2 separate regions of the Homo sapiens genome follow, and region 2 is linked to region 1. The links are contacts of gene promoters, found by promoter capture Hi-C in blood cells and fetal thymus (Javierre and others, 2016). All regions are on one chromosome and are shown on one strand. Each heading gives the region's core, a stretch centred on a gene start or on the middle of the fragment in contact. The rest is flanking DNA. Distances are from core to core; before and after follow the strand shown. Region 1 holds the start of KRT84 (keratin 84). Region 2 holds the start of KRT2 (keratin 2).

The links. The method cuts DNA at HindIII sites, captures the fragments that hold promoters and counts their contacts. A CHiCAGO score of 5 or more calls a contact.
Region 2: a contact is called between a fragment that was not itself captured here and the fragment with the promoter of KRT84 in region 1, in 1 of 17 cell types (endothelial precursors). The highest score is 5.9, in endothelial precursors.

The regions. Positions count from the first base shown.
Region 1 is chr12:52,384,372-52,391,901 of GRCh38, forward strand. KRT84 (keratin 84) reads right to left here and starts at 1,281. Exons shown (of 9, transcript NM_033045.4): 1 at 669-1,281. The coding sequence starts at 1,214. The HindIII fragment of the contact is 9,508 bases long and covers 1-4,169 here.
Region 2 is chr12:52,647,556-52,654,293 of GRCh38, forward strand. It overlaps KRT2 (keratin 2), which reads right to left and starts at 4,656. Exons shown (of 9, transcript NM_000423.3): 1 at 4,003-4,656; 2 at 2,784-2,998; 3 at 2,359-2,419; 4 at 1,452-1,547; 5 at 618-782; 6 at 175-300. The coding sequence starts at 4,587. The HindIII fragment of the contact is 747 bases long and covers 1,040-1,786 here.

The DNA.
Region 1 (7,530 bases), core at 31-2,530:
CATCTCCACATAGACATGGTGTGTGGGATGTCAGTTCTTTTGGGTTATCCACATCACTGTTCCCACTCATCTGCCTGGAAGCCAGTGACTACCAGTGGTCATTCCCTGCAATTTCCCTGAATCTAGGCAACTTGGCCGAATTTTGATACCCCATGTGGGGGTATGAATTCTTCTTCTTTTTTTAATTACTCAACTCCATTCTCTACTTTTCTAAGCCTGAATAGATGAGGCCACTCAGCCTCAGAAACTATGAAAACTTCATAAGGAACAAAAGGATCTCAAAGAATAAAACCTCTTAAGCATATACCAGCCAACACCTGGCTAAAGTCCCAGTGTTTCCAGCCTGTTTCAGAGACATTTCTAAGTGACCAGATGCAACATCTTAGTTTGTCGAGATGCCCTCGAGTTTGGCTGGATGCTCCTCTGTCCTCCAGAAGATATCAACACTGTCGGAATCTATCCCACCATGCAGCTCGTCCTCTGGCTTGGCCTTGCTCTGCAGCAGAGCAACCCATAAAGCATACCACAATGCCTGAGGTAGGCACTTGAAAGATCTGAGGTCAAGGTCAAGTCCCCAGAACCGGGCCAGTTCTTTTTAAGGGAAAGAGCACTCTAGCGCATTTTGGCTGTAATATTCCTAGACCCAGAGATTCAGCTATCATAGGTACCTTGTCAATGAAGGAGGCAAACTTGTTGTTGAGGGTCTTGATTTGCTCCTTCTCATCCTTCTTCACCCTCTGGGCATTGGGGTCAATCTCCAGGTTGAGGGGGGTCAGTAGGCTCTTGTTCACAGTCACAGCTGTGATAGATGGGGCTGCTGGGACTCCAACCCCTCCAACTCTGTAACCAAAGCCAGGGCCACCAAAGCCATAGCCAATGCCACTGCCAGCTCCAAAGCCCAGACCAACACAGCTGTCAGCCCTAGGCCCCAGACCAACACCTCTCCCATCACCAAAACCCATCCCACAGCCAGCACCAAAGCGGACTCCACAGTGGATGGGCCGAGAGCCTACAGCTGCTATCCGGGGTGAGTACGATCCAAAGGTGATGACACTCCGACTACCAAAGCTGCCAAGGCCCCGGAATCCAGGCCCACTCCAACAGGAGACAGAGTTGGCCCGGAAGCGATTCAGGTTCTGTGGTGTCATTGCTGAACAAGAGCTGAAGTTGCCCACCCGGTGACCAGAGCTGACTCGGTAGGAGCGGCAAGACATGATGGCTTCCTGGTTGGGAGCAAAAGAGCAAGTGTAGAATGGGTGAGCTGGAGCTGGGAGTCCCTCTGAGGCCAGTGGAACCCTTGCACCCCTTTTATGTGTGTGGTGATCTGAGGCTTGGCCCCATAAAAATGAAAAAATCCATTTGCAGGCATTTATGAGCTTGGGTAGTTAGCAGAAACTCTGCATGCCTATAACCTCCTTGACAATGAGTTAACTCAGACACACCTAGTCTCATTGGGATGAGGGCTGTAACAGCAAACCAATAAACATTAAAAACACATAAACATATAAACATTATAGTCTTTTTTTTCCCTATAAGTCTACCACAATTGCCATTAAGGGGACATTAATTTGCTTTGGTCATAAATGCAATAGGTTTTTTCACTGTGAGTGTGGCTAACCACCAGAAAGTTAGGATGGCGACAGCTCCAGCAAGAGGCTCACATGGGATGCATCCATGAAGATATAACCCCCTAAAGAGGTGGGAGTGTGTGCACATCTCCAAGTAAGAAGTGATATGGAGAAAATACAGTTTGTTGCATTTCTGCAAATCAATTAAATCATCAAAAAACCTTCTGCCATGTTTTATCCAATATGGCTGTTTAGTATACAAGAGTTGAATCTACAGTAAAGCTCATTTGGGCTAGTGTAGACACATCTGTGATTTGAGACACTCAGAGATATTCATTCATTCTACAGTTTTAGAGTGCCTGCTATGTATCCAGCAGTGTGCTTGCTGCTGAGGGTACAGAGATTACAAAGACAGTCTCTATCTTCATGGTAGTAGGGGAAGATTTATCTTAAATTTTTTTTTTTTTTTTAGAGACATGATCTAGTTGCCCAGGCTGGTCTTGAACTCCTGGGCTCAAGTGATCCTCCCGCCTCCGCCTCCCAGATAGCTGGGACTACAGGCATCCACCACCATGCCCAGCAGAACATTTATCTTGAGGATTTCCAGCAGTCAACACTTTGTGGCATGATTTGAGGCCAAAGCATTGGAAAGTTTCTGTATAGAAAGCTAACTACATGATTTTTAGCCCCCAAATATACCATAGGTGTGATTTATGGGCCTGTCCATTTAGGTTCCTTGAATTATTGATGAATCTTTGGTTAGGATAGAGAGACACAAAGCAATATACATCTGGATAGAAAAGGAAAAGTTCTCAGCAGCTGAATATTATCATTGTTAGCAATATTGCAGCTCTTTTAGGACCCTGAGCCAGGCTGGTGTTTACCTTTTCTATTCTAGTGCATCCTTTGCCCAGGGGAACTCATGTTTGACTGGACGCTTGAGATTCTTTGGGATGCTTGCAATTCCACTTGGAAGGGGATGTATGCTTTTGACCAGAAGCATCCAGCTCATTTGTGCGGTATTTTCTTTTTCCAGCTATCAGCTGTATGTCTAAGGGGGAAATGAAGCAGAAAAACAATAAGAAGTGCATACTTCTCGTCAAGACCACCAGTGGCCTCCATGTTAAATTCAATGGTCTGTCCTCAGTTCTCACTTTCTTCACATAGCTGACCATGCCCTTTCTCTTGAAACACGCTCTTCTTTTGATTTTCGGACACTACACTCTCTCGATTTCTTGCCACACTCTTTTCAGTCTTCTAAGCCAGTTCCTCCTCATATCCCCAACCTCTAGACACTGCAGAGTCCCTGGCTCAATCCTTGGGTATCTATTCTCTTCTTTAGACTCATTGCCTTGGTGATATTATACAGACTCAGGACTTTAAATACCATCTGTTCATTCATGACTGCCAAGGCACAACTCTATCCCAGACCTCCCTACCCCTAAACGCCACACATATATTTTAACCAACATCTCTATTTGGATATCAGATAGGCATCTCAAACTTAATACAGTTGTCCCTTGGTATCCCCAGGTAGTTGGTTCCAGGACCCCTTGTGGATACCAAAATCCATGGATGTTCGTCGAGCCTCCGATATACAATGGTGTAGTATTTGCATGTAACCCACACACATCCTTCTGTATACTTGAAATCATCACTGGATTATAATACCTAATACAATGTAAATGCTATGTAAATAGTTGTTATACTTTATTGACAAGAAAAAAGTCCGTACTTGTTCAGCACAGATGCAATTTTTTTAAGAGTTTCAATCTGCAGTTGGTTGAATCCACAAAGGTGGGAGCCACAGATACAGAGGGATGACTTTATGACCAAAACTGTTCTCCTAATTGTTCCTGCTAAATATGTTCCACTTGCCAACATCACTATCTCTGCAATAGTTCATGCCAGAAATCTTGGAGTCATCCTTTTGTCCTCTGTTTTTTATTTCCCTTTTCCCACATTCAATTCATTGGCAAATTCTCCCTTCAAAATATATCCAGACTCCTACTCCTTCTCACCATCCTGCTGCTCCCATGCTGGCCCAGGCCCATCTCTTCCCACAGGATCTTCTGAACTACACTCCCAGCTGGTCTCCCAGCTTCCTCCCTTGCCCCTTCAGGCTTTTCTTAGCAGCACAGAGTGATCCTTTAAAAACATGTCAGATCATGCCATTTCCATGCCGAAACTCCTCCCATGGTTTCCCACCCATTCAGAGTCAATGCCCTGTAAGACACTATGCAGTGTGCCTCCCTCTTCCCTGACCTCATCCCCTCCACCTGTCCCGCTGCCCACTCTGTTGCAGCCACTTGAGCATCCTGGCTGTCCATCAAACAGGCAGAATGACTCCTGCCTCGAATGCTTACCCCCTTGCTGTTTTCTCTGCTGGGAACCTTTTTCCTCAAATAGCTGTATGGCTGGGTCCCTCAACTCTTCCAGGGCTTTGTTCATATGTCATCCTCTTAGCTTCTATTGGAAACTCCCTGTCCTCCCTGTACACCTGCCCCGCTTCCTTGTCGCCTTAGCATTTACAGCCATCTGAGGTCCTCTTCTTGGGTGGATTTGCCTGTTGTTGTCGTTGACTTGTACTGGCTGGAGCAAAGCTTTAGGAGGCAGACACTGCTGTGCATTTTGCTCTCTGAGGGGTCCCCAGGACTCAGAGTGGGGCACATGGTGGGCATTCTGTATAGTTTCGTTGAGTGAATGGAAGAGGCTGTGAAGATTAAAAGCAGGAGGAGAAAGAAATAGGAAGTATGAAGAACAGGAATTTGGGCATTTGATTTTGCAGATATTTCGGGAAAAAGAGACTCCAAGTTCCCAAATGGACAGGAATGGCCCAGGAGGGGACGGTGGGGCAGAAACTCAAGAGCTCAAAGGAGAACCAATCCAGTTTGTCCCCCAGTTCCAGCCTCTTGGGGTTTGAGCCAGGCTGCTTGAACGAAAGGGCATCCCACTCCTCTGAGGCCAGGCGAGGGGTTCCAGGAGATTGGGGCAGGGGGACCAGAGGCTGTCTGGTGGAGGTGAAAGGGGAAGGGAGTGGGAGGGATGGCCTGCCTAGAGAACCCTGGTGGGGACCCAGAAGATGATATCAATTTTAGAGTCAGATGGACCTGGGTGAAACTCAGATTTGTCACCGACTAGCAGTATGATCTTGGATAGTGCTATACCAAGGGCAGGGTGGTGGCCAGGTTCTGCTGCAGGTGCAGGCACTAGGGGAACTTTTCTGCAGAGAACTTTAAAACCAACCAATCAGCTTATTAACAATTTTCAGCATGCATTGGCCATTCTAAATAATGGTAGTAGTCCCTTCCACCCCTATGGTATACCAATGACCTTGGGGAAATTGTTTAACCTCTAAGCCTCAGTTTCCTCATGTTAATATGGAATATTCCCTGTTTCATAGTATGATGAGGATTGACTAGGAAGTGCCTGGGATGTGCACTGTGCAGTGCCTGGCAGCTGCTACTGTACTCCATTCCTTTCCCTGGCTCTTTCCTCCCTCCCTTCCTCCCTTTTCTTCTCTGTTTTGCACAATCCTCCCTTCACTTCTACACAGTCATCCCTGTTCCCATCCACACCCGCCTCCTTCCTGCTCCCATGGCAGATGCATTCATACCCCATTAGCCATTCCTGTCCCATGTCCCAGCTTCCCTCAACCCTGATCAGGCTGGGTGGGGTGGGGGTAATTGTAATTGGGACCAGTCAAGCATAGTCCCTGCTCTGTGATGAACTGTCACCATCAGCAGTTTGCAGTTTGGAGGCATTATTTCGCCAGACGATGCATAACACAACCCTCAGTCATTTTTTAGGGGGTGGCAGGTGGGGAGAGGGGGCGGAGTTGCCCTGGCAACTTTGGGTAGGAGGTTTTGCTGCTGCAACAGTTTCTTCTTGCTGTTGTCAGTCAGCCTGAGTGTAACTCCAGAGACTTGCGGGCTGAGCCCAGGCTCCGTGGCTGCATTACCATGCCTGGCTGCTGGGTCATCAGGATCCTATCTGTGGAGCAGGGAGGAGGCAGAAACGCTGAGCAGAGGAAAGGGAGGGGAAGGGCTGCCTGAGGGAGGGGGACATCCTGGTTGGCCATGCAGGTTCTGGGAACGCTGTTTGCACTGTGGCTGGGTGTGTGTGTGGGAAAGGGGATGACAGGGGAAGCCCAGATTCTGAGAAGGCTTCAGAGGGCTTCTGTTTAGCCTGGGGACGAGTTTGTGCTGGAGAGAGGCACTGGCTGGAGAAGTTTTCATGCTAAGACCTGCTCCTGCTGGGAAAGGAAGCTTCAGAGTCCCCCCAGCAGGGGTGGGGGTCGGGGGGCAGGGGGTGTGTGTGAGAGGCTAGGTCCACCCTTGCCAGTACCTCCTCCTCTCTCCCCTCTCAGATGAATGAACACGCCTCCCCACGGAAGATAAAGCACCCCCTTCTTGTTTTCTACCCACCCCTCTCACTTCTTCCAGGAAGGATGGTTTTTTCAGGTTTAATGCGATGTCTCACATGGCCCACATGGTTGTCACCTGTCCAGAGTGAAAATGTTGCTCCTGGTAGACATCTAGTTCAGTTTGCTTCAACACACCTTTATTGGTTGCTAATGTGCGCCTGGCATTGCACTTAGGTGCTAGGATGGCTAGGACAGCCTCTTCCAGGTTCAGCGACTCCAAGCACCCCCTCCTCTGCTCAGGGTGCCATTTCTAGAGCCATTTTCCCAATTCCAGCCCCTGCCAGGATTCTTTCTGGGTACTTGGTGACCCTGGCTGGAGTGTGGCAATCGTGGGTGGACCTGGGACCACAGATGTGACTGGTGTGAGGAAGGGCCATTAGGGGCAGAGTCACCCAAGGGAGGGGCCAGGGGAACAAGGAGGAGCTGTGTGGGAGGGAGAGAAACTCTGGTGAGCACTTGAAAGCTTCAGGAGGAAGAGGGCCAGGAAATGGGAGACTTTCTGTGGAGACAGACACAGAAATACAGAGCTCCAGTTCAGGTCCCCCCAGCCTCCCTAGGCCTCTCTGGGTTGTTCCCCATCCTATCCTCACTGGCACATTCTGGAGGGGCTGGGATTAGGAGACTCCAGGCCAAGCCGAGTACAGTGAAACTCTGGCTTCATGCAGACGGTTCTCTTTCTCACCAGGGCAGGGGGCCGGGGCCTGTTCCTACTGTATTCCAGCACCCATTGCAGGGCTGACCCCAGAAGACACTCAGGAGGTGTTTGCTGTGTTGAATGGAATGCAGACATCCCAGCCACCACCAGGAGGCACATCTGTCCCGCCTGTTTTGAATGTCTCCTCTCCTGGGGAGGAAGGGGGAATGGGGACACAGCTGCACGATGCTGGGGAGTCCCTGGTGGGTGTCCTGGAGGGGGTGCCCTGGTCTCTGTGCTCACATCCAGGGCTGAGCGTGGGAGCACACTCCTGGGATGAGCAGTGCTTATGGGATGACTCCAGGCAGCCTCCCTGCCCAGCAGACACTTATCAGGGGCCAGGCACTCTGGAACCAAAATCCCAAAAGGGTGGTTACCAGGCCCCGAGCCTACCTCACCGCAGTGGGGGGAGTCTTCCTTCCCTCTTCTGCTTCATTCTTAGCTCAGTCCCAACACCAAGGTGGGCCGTTTCCTGGGCCTCGAGCAGCCATCTGTGAGATGGGGTGGCCAGTCTCCTTGGAATCTGTTTGCTGACTACAGGGCGGAGGGTCACTCTGGCTCTAGGGTGCTCTGAATTAGTCCTCAGCAGGGAGTGGAGCTGGATCCAGGCCCAGGTCCAGAGAGACGAGGCTTCAAGTGGGAACAAGGCTCTCAGATCCATCATTTCCTTCTCTCTTTCCCAGCATGTGGATGTGCATCCCCGGAATCACACTCACAGGCCCCAGCCATGTGCTGCGTGCCCAGCTGGCAGCTGTGATGCCCCAGCCTGGAGCCTGCTGCTGGCATCCTGCCCAGACAGTCCCGTGGGCCTCCAGGACTCAGGCTTGCCTGCCCCTCCTCCT
Region 2 (6,738 bases), core at 163-2,662, 260 kb after region 1:
AATTGTTATAATAAGCCATAAATTATGTTAAGCTGGGGAATTTGGGATCGATACATGCTAGAGTGCAATATCTCAGTGTCTCTCATCTCTCACATGCACACTCACACACAACCACACTCTCACGCACACCCAGAGACAACCTCCCGCCCCTCGCTGGACAGGGCTGGGCCTCACCTGCTTCTTCACATGTGCGATCTCCCCCTGCAGCCTCTGGATCACGCGGTTCAGCTCGCTGATCTCTATCTTGATCTCTTTCAGGCTGTCTCCATGTCTCCCGACAGTCACCTGGAGCTCCTCATACTGATATGGGGAGAAGAGGACAGTTTGCAAGGAAGTTCCAGCCTGGCTCACATTCCAGACTGACTGGAGTGAAGGAGAGCTGGTTACTGGTCCAGGGAGGGTCAACCCAGCTAAATGTCATGGCTGCATTCATGAGAGGTAGGGACTGTCTCACATGCCCAAAAGGACTTGGTGCCATTCTCAACATCCTTTCTTGGGAATGGTGCCCAACTACCATTAAACAAAAAACCAATAACCTTACTGTACACTTTCCAGCTGGGGGTGCAACCCAGCTCATGGCAGGGAGCTGTGGCTCTTCCTACATTCCCTCTACTTGCCTTGCTGTGGTACAGGGCCTCCGCTTCTTCCTTGCTCCTCTGGGCGATCTCCTCATACTGGGCCTTGACCTCGGCGATGATGCTATCCAAGTCCAGGTTGCGGCTGTTGTCCATGGAGAGGATGACGTTGGTGTCAGTGACACTCTGATGTATCTGGGATATCTCCTACAACACACAGGAAGGTCTGGTCATGACATCCTGCCATAGCTACAGGCAGACAGGAGGCCTCTGTCTCCCAGCATAAGGGAAACGCAGACCCTCAGACTAAGCATACACTAGGTGGGATGAAAATCATGTAACCGTCTACTCCTGGGCCTCTCCCAAGGTTGTCCTGAGAATTGTAGTGAGAGGCACCTGTATTTCTGAGCCTCCTAGTTAACATTCAGCACTTAAGCCAGTTATGGTAAGTGCCCCCAGACAGAAGCTTGTCCATGGCAAATACCTTAAATGGACTTCCTGTTTCAGAAATCATCTGTGCACCCTTGGGTTGGGGAGGGGGATAGGAGACAAATGCATTTTGACCTCTGAAGTACAGTAGGCACAGGAATGGGCACAGGGCTTGTCTCTTCCCCAGGGGAAATGGACATCTGGGGAATGGAGGGAGGGGAAGCTGTCCTGGTGTTTCCTGAACCTTATTCCCATAACATCGGAGGAGAAAATTCCTCACCCACAAGACCTATGCTATGAAAGCCCCCCCAGTGGCCTGGAATGATGGCAGATTGAAGTCAGCTGGTCCATAAACCCCACTTCTGCCACTTTTTCACCAAGCAGAAAGGACTTTCATTTGGTGAGAAGGGTGGGAAGTAAGGGACTGTCCCGGAGCAGCCTCCTTACCGCATCATAGAGAACTTTCAGAAACTCAATTTCCTGGTTCAGCAGGTCCACCTTGGACTGCAACTCCACCTTTATCATGTAGGCATTGTCCACGTCCTGCAAGAAAGGTTGAGGCCTCTGGTGTATGGTTCCCTGTACAGGCCTCTTCCTCTCTCTGCCACTCCCCTCTACTCAGTCCCTGCTGGCTCCTCTCTAAAATCCCAGGCTCCCCAACCTGATCCCTGTCCCCATGGGACTTCTTTTGTCGTGCAGTTTACCATACACCTCTGCCAGGGACTTCATGCCTACGTCCATGGCTCACAGCCCTCAGGACCATCAGAGCCTCGAGATGACCAAGCTTTGCCAACCAGCCCCTCTCTCCTGCTTGAGACACTGTGTGTTTCTACAACAGGATACGATGTTCTTTGTGGGTTTCCACAGTCCTCAGCTCTCTCATCCCGTCTGTCCATCTCACCTCTCCGAAATTTCCCCAGAATATACACCAAAGGCCCTGCAGGACCCAGCAGGAGAACCCTTGCTTTTGGCCTACAACCTCAAACCTTTGTCAGCACAACCAACAGCAACTTTAAGCAGGCATTCTAAGGGAAGTCCCATTCCTTCCTCAGCTCTTTAGAAGGAGAATACAAAGAGATTTTTGTGTTTGCATTTATCATGATTCAGTAGAGGCTTTAAGTGGGTTACTACTGGGAAGCACTCTACCAAAAATGCAGAACAGCTTTGAAAACTGTATCCAGAAGCTTGACCTACAGAGACAATTTTGTTTGCAAGAGAATGTGCCATGGGTCTCACTCCTTTCTCTGGCTGCTGCTTTTGCACTCACAGTTGATTTCCAAACTGGCTGCTTAGACACAATGGGGCTGTGAAGCACTCCTATCCCCACCCCCAGCCAAGACATTCTCTCGCTCACCTTTTTAAGCGTCACAAAATCATTCTCAGCAGCTGTGCGCTTATTGATTTCATCCTCATACCTATTGGGACACAGATGTTACAGCAGTTAGATTAGTTCCCCTTCATTTTTTTTCTTTTCCTTTTATACTGGATTCACCCCAAATGCCCCATTCTCTGGGAATATTACACACTTTTTAAATATCTAAATTGAAACTAAGATTTCCAAACTAAAGATATATTTTTATAAACTAACTCTCAAACATACAAAAGACAAAAATGATCTCTAAAGTCTCACTGTCTTCCTCACAAATAATCAACAAAGATACATATGCCTCTCCCCATTACCACCACAAATGCAACTGGGAGATGAATGGCTTTCCAGGGAGTGATCAAATGGCTCAGTGCAATGTTTATCTCCACTCAGCGTTTCACTCTGCCACCTACTTCTTCTTATAATCCTCCACAAGATCCTGCATGTTATTCAGCTCTGAATTCTGTGATGTTCTTTCTGCAGTGAGCCCATCCAGATATCTCTTGAGGCTGTCGATATACCCCTGGAAGATGGGCTCCAGGTTGATGGGGCGGGTGCCAACATTCATTTGTTGTAGCAGCTCCCATTTGGTCTGTAACACCTGGTTCTGCTGCTCCAAGAACCGCACCTGCCATGACCAGAAGGAGAGCACATGAGTTCTAGATCATCCTTCACACCAAGCAAGCCACGCTGGCCAGGGGCAGCTCAGGTGCTGCTTCAGGACCTCGAGAAGTGTCTGAGGCTGGATGCCGAGTCATGACTGGCAGAGCTTCTGAGCTCCCTGCTTTCGCCCCTGGAAAGTCCCACAGACTCCTAATGCTACATCCGGCTCTCTCCACGCAGAGGAGACTCTTTGCTGCTTCACTGCTCACTGGTTTGTTTGCAGCTGCTCCCAATACTCTAGACCATTTCCCTCCCCGCATCCTGGTTGAATTTCCAGCCAAGATCCCATAAATTCTGGGGAAAACCGAAAGCAGCCATCTGCTGGCACTGCTCGCAAGGGTGCTGAGTATGAGAGTCCCAGAGGGCAGGGCTCCTCAGCCTGATTTTTAAGAGCCTTGTAAATCCCTGCCTATTTCAAGGCAGATAAACCAAGACAGGTTCGTCTGCCTTGAAATAGGAGAAAAGCCAGTAACACTCCGAAGTGACACCAATAAAGACTTTATGGATCACAAAACTGAGAACGCTTCTCTTGAAGGCAGGAATTTCCTGCATTCCCAAGCAGATATTTCAGGTTCAGCTTCCCAGAGTTTAGTAATCACTGCTAAGGAAGGAAACACTATCTCAGAAGACGATGGCTTCCAAAACCTGCTGCTCCAGTGGCCTGTCCCAAGGATCAGTTCAATACTTGCCTATATCCATTTTTTATGGTTTTCAGAATTTTCCATAAATATTATTTATATGGACTGTAACAATAAGGTCAAAGGGACAAATGCTTCCTAAGTGCAGGCTGTTATGGGAAATGTAACCCACAAAGCTGGCGTCTTTTCCATCTGGAAACCGCAAATGACCCAGGCTACTGCGGTACACCACTGGCTCCTAAGAAATACAAATCTGTGCCATTTTCTTTTTGGTTGGCTCTGGAAGTGAAGTGGCCTGAGCATCAGTGGGAGCCGTCTTCTCCAGAGTCACCTTGTCAATGAAGGAGGCAAATTTGTTGTTGAGAGTTTTGATCTGCTCACGCTCTTGGGCCTTCACATTCTGGATCTCTGGGTCAACTTTCACGTTGAGAGGCTGCAGGAGGCTCTGGTTGACAGAGACTTCGTGGATGCCACCAGGGTATCCTCCAGGCCCAAAGCCACCAGGACCCCCTAAACCTCCAACACCACCAGGGCCCCCAAAACCTCCAAAGCGGCCTCCACCAAAGCCGCCTCCACCGAAACCACCACCACTGAAGCCGCTGCCACCTCCAAAGCTGCTGCCGCCTCCAAAACCACCTCCTCTGCCACCAAATCCACCAGCGGCGCCAAAGCCACCACCTCCTCCAGCCACACTAATGGAGATGCTCTTGGTCCCTCCAAGGCCAACAAGACTCCGACTGCCAAAGCCGCCTCCACCGAAGCCCCCGCCACCACCACCATGGCGGCTCAAGCAGGAGAAGCTGGAAGTTGATCTCCGGCTTCCACCAGACACCACAGCTGAGCCGCTGCTGAAGCCCCGGAATCCTCCTCCACCTCCTCCTCTTCCTCGAGATTTGCAAGAGATCTGACAACTCATGATGCCTTTGTCCAGGGAGGAAAGTCACAGGCTCTTGAGAAGAGTCAAGGCTGGAGACTCAACTGTGCTGCTGGGAGGCTTTCAGGGTCCCCTTATATACCTGCCAACTAGGTGTTGTGTACATGGGTGTGGATCCACTTATACGTGGGTTTGGTCTGCCTGGGAGCTATTCCTGGTGCGTGATTATCAAGCTAATAGCCATTAAAAATCTACTAATCAGCTCCATCCCAGAACTTGCTTTGATTGCAAACTTCTGTTTATCTGGGCATCTGTCATGCAATTTGATTTTTGTAAAATCATCAAAAGAGGAGATCAGGGTTTGGGTTTCTCAATCTGGAAAAGGACCTTCTGCAGAATGCTGCTCCCTGTTCTGGACCTGCCCAAGGGAAGTCAGCTACCACCCATGCTTGTGCAGGCTCACCACCCCAGTTCAACAATGAAAGGGATGGTGGGTTTAGAGACTGCAAGAGCCCCTCAATGCCAGCCTTGTAGTTCTCTTGTAGTTTCCCTCTTTCCCAGAAAGAGCCCCAACTAGTGCAGGGGAGACTGCAAAGGTCTTAAATGACCTTAAATGCTAATTGGAAATCGACCTCCTCTTACAGAAAGTAATTGGCCTCGGATACTGCAAAAGAGGTGTCGATTTTCAAAATATCTTGGCTCTTTTCTTCCCATGCCACACCAAAAATACACAATAACTAGGCACCGAATAGAGATTTTTTATAACCATGATGGTTTGTATAACCATCAACTGTCCCTTGTCTACATGAACACCCAGAGGTTGAGAGGTATGAGAAAAGTTTCGCTGTTTCTGGACCTGTGTGATGCGGGACACCAAGTGAAAGTTTGCAAACCAAGATCCAAGTGTATATTGATTCAGTCAGTCAGTAATCACGTATTGCCTGGTGATCCTGGGAAGTGATTAGGAAGTCAGGCTCTTCAATGACATCCACAGATGCTTGAGGATAAGAAGACCATCCAGCCTGCACAGAGCACTCACACTTAAACTCAACCACTTCCTCTGTCCATGTGGCCAACTATGTGGGAGAGGTTCTTGGAGTAATAAAACTGAATTTAGTCAGAAATTCTGGGTTTGAGTCCCAGTTTTGCTATTTATTGGCTGTGAGGCCTTGAATGAAACCCTGAGGCTCTGTGGTCCCAGCTATAAAATGGGAAATTCGTATGAAGTGTTTTGAAAACCACCGTGCACAATAAAATGTCAGTATCATTATTGTTTGGGGTGAGACAAAGATAATTCCTTTTCCTTTCCCCCTTGCCATGTTACTGTCTTCTGGCTACTATGAACATGCACTCTCCACAGGCATCATAAATTACAGAACCAGGTGGTTCAGATCCTAGTACCAAGTTATCACAAAATAATGTAAAAAACATAAGTTTGAGGTCAAATCCCAATTTTCTTGTATCTTAGTTAAATGACCTCAGATAATCCATAATCCTCTTCAAGCCTCAGTTTCCTCATCTATAAAAAGTGAACAAGAATAATAAGAATATGGCTACTGTGAAAACAGAACAATACACACATGTGCTAAACACAGTTCCTAGTTCATAGCAGAAACTCAATAAATGCTATTCACCCTTCTGCATCTTCCCCGCCAAGTTTCCAATCCTGTCTTAACTACTATTCAAGGTATTTAATTTGCAGTAAAAGAATGCTGAAGGAAACAAAGCTACATGTCTCCTCAATTATTTTTTCCAATCTGGTTTGCATAATTATAATCATGCAAACAAATCATGAAGCTAACAGCTTTGGAGACAGTCTCAATCCAAAGCAAAATGTGTCATTATCTACAGATATCTGAGCAATGCCCTAGTCGTCCCTTACTCCACCATGACTGTGCTCACACTATGGCAGCTTCAGGGGGGTCTTAATGCCTCTATGAAGGAAATTGAGCCAGATTTGTGCTAGGCACCCAATCTGCATGTTTTACTGCATTTTAATTCTGCCCTCACACCCTGGTCTCCCTCCCCACTCTCTCCACTGAACATCTTCTCCTTCTAGACCCATTCACCAATTTTTGAAAGTCAAGTTGAAAGAGTCCTCCTACTCTTTTGAAATGTGGAGACTAGAATTAATGCAATTTGAATATTATGTAACATTTTATTTCTATATTTTTAAATTTTCAACTTTTACAT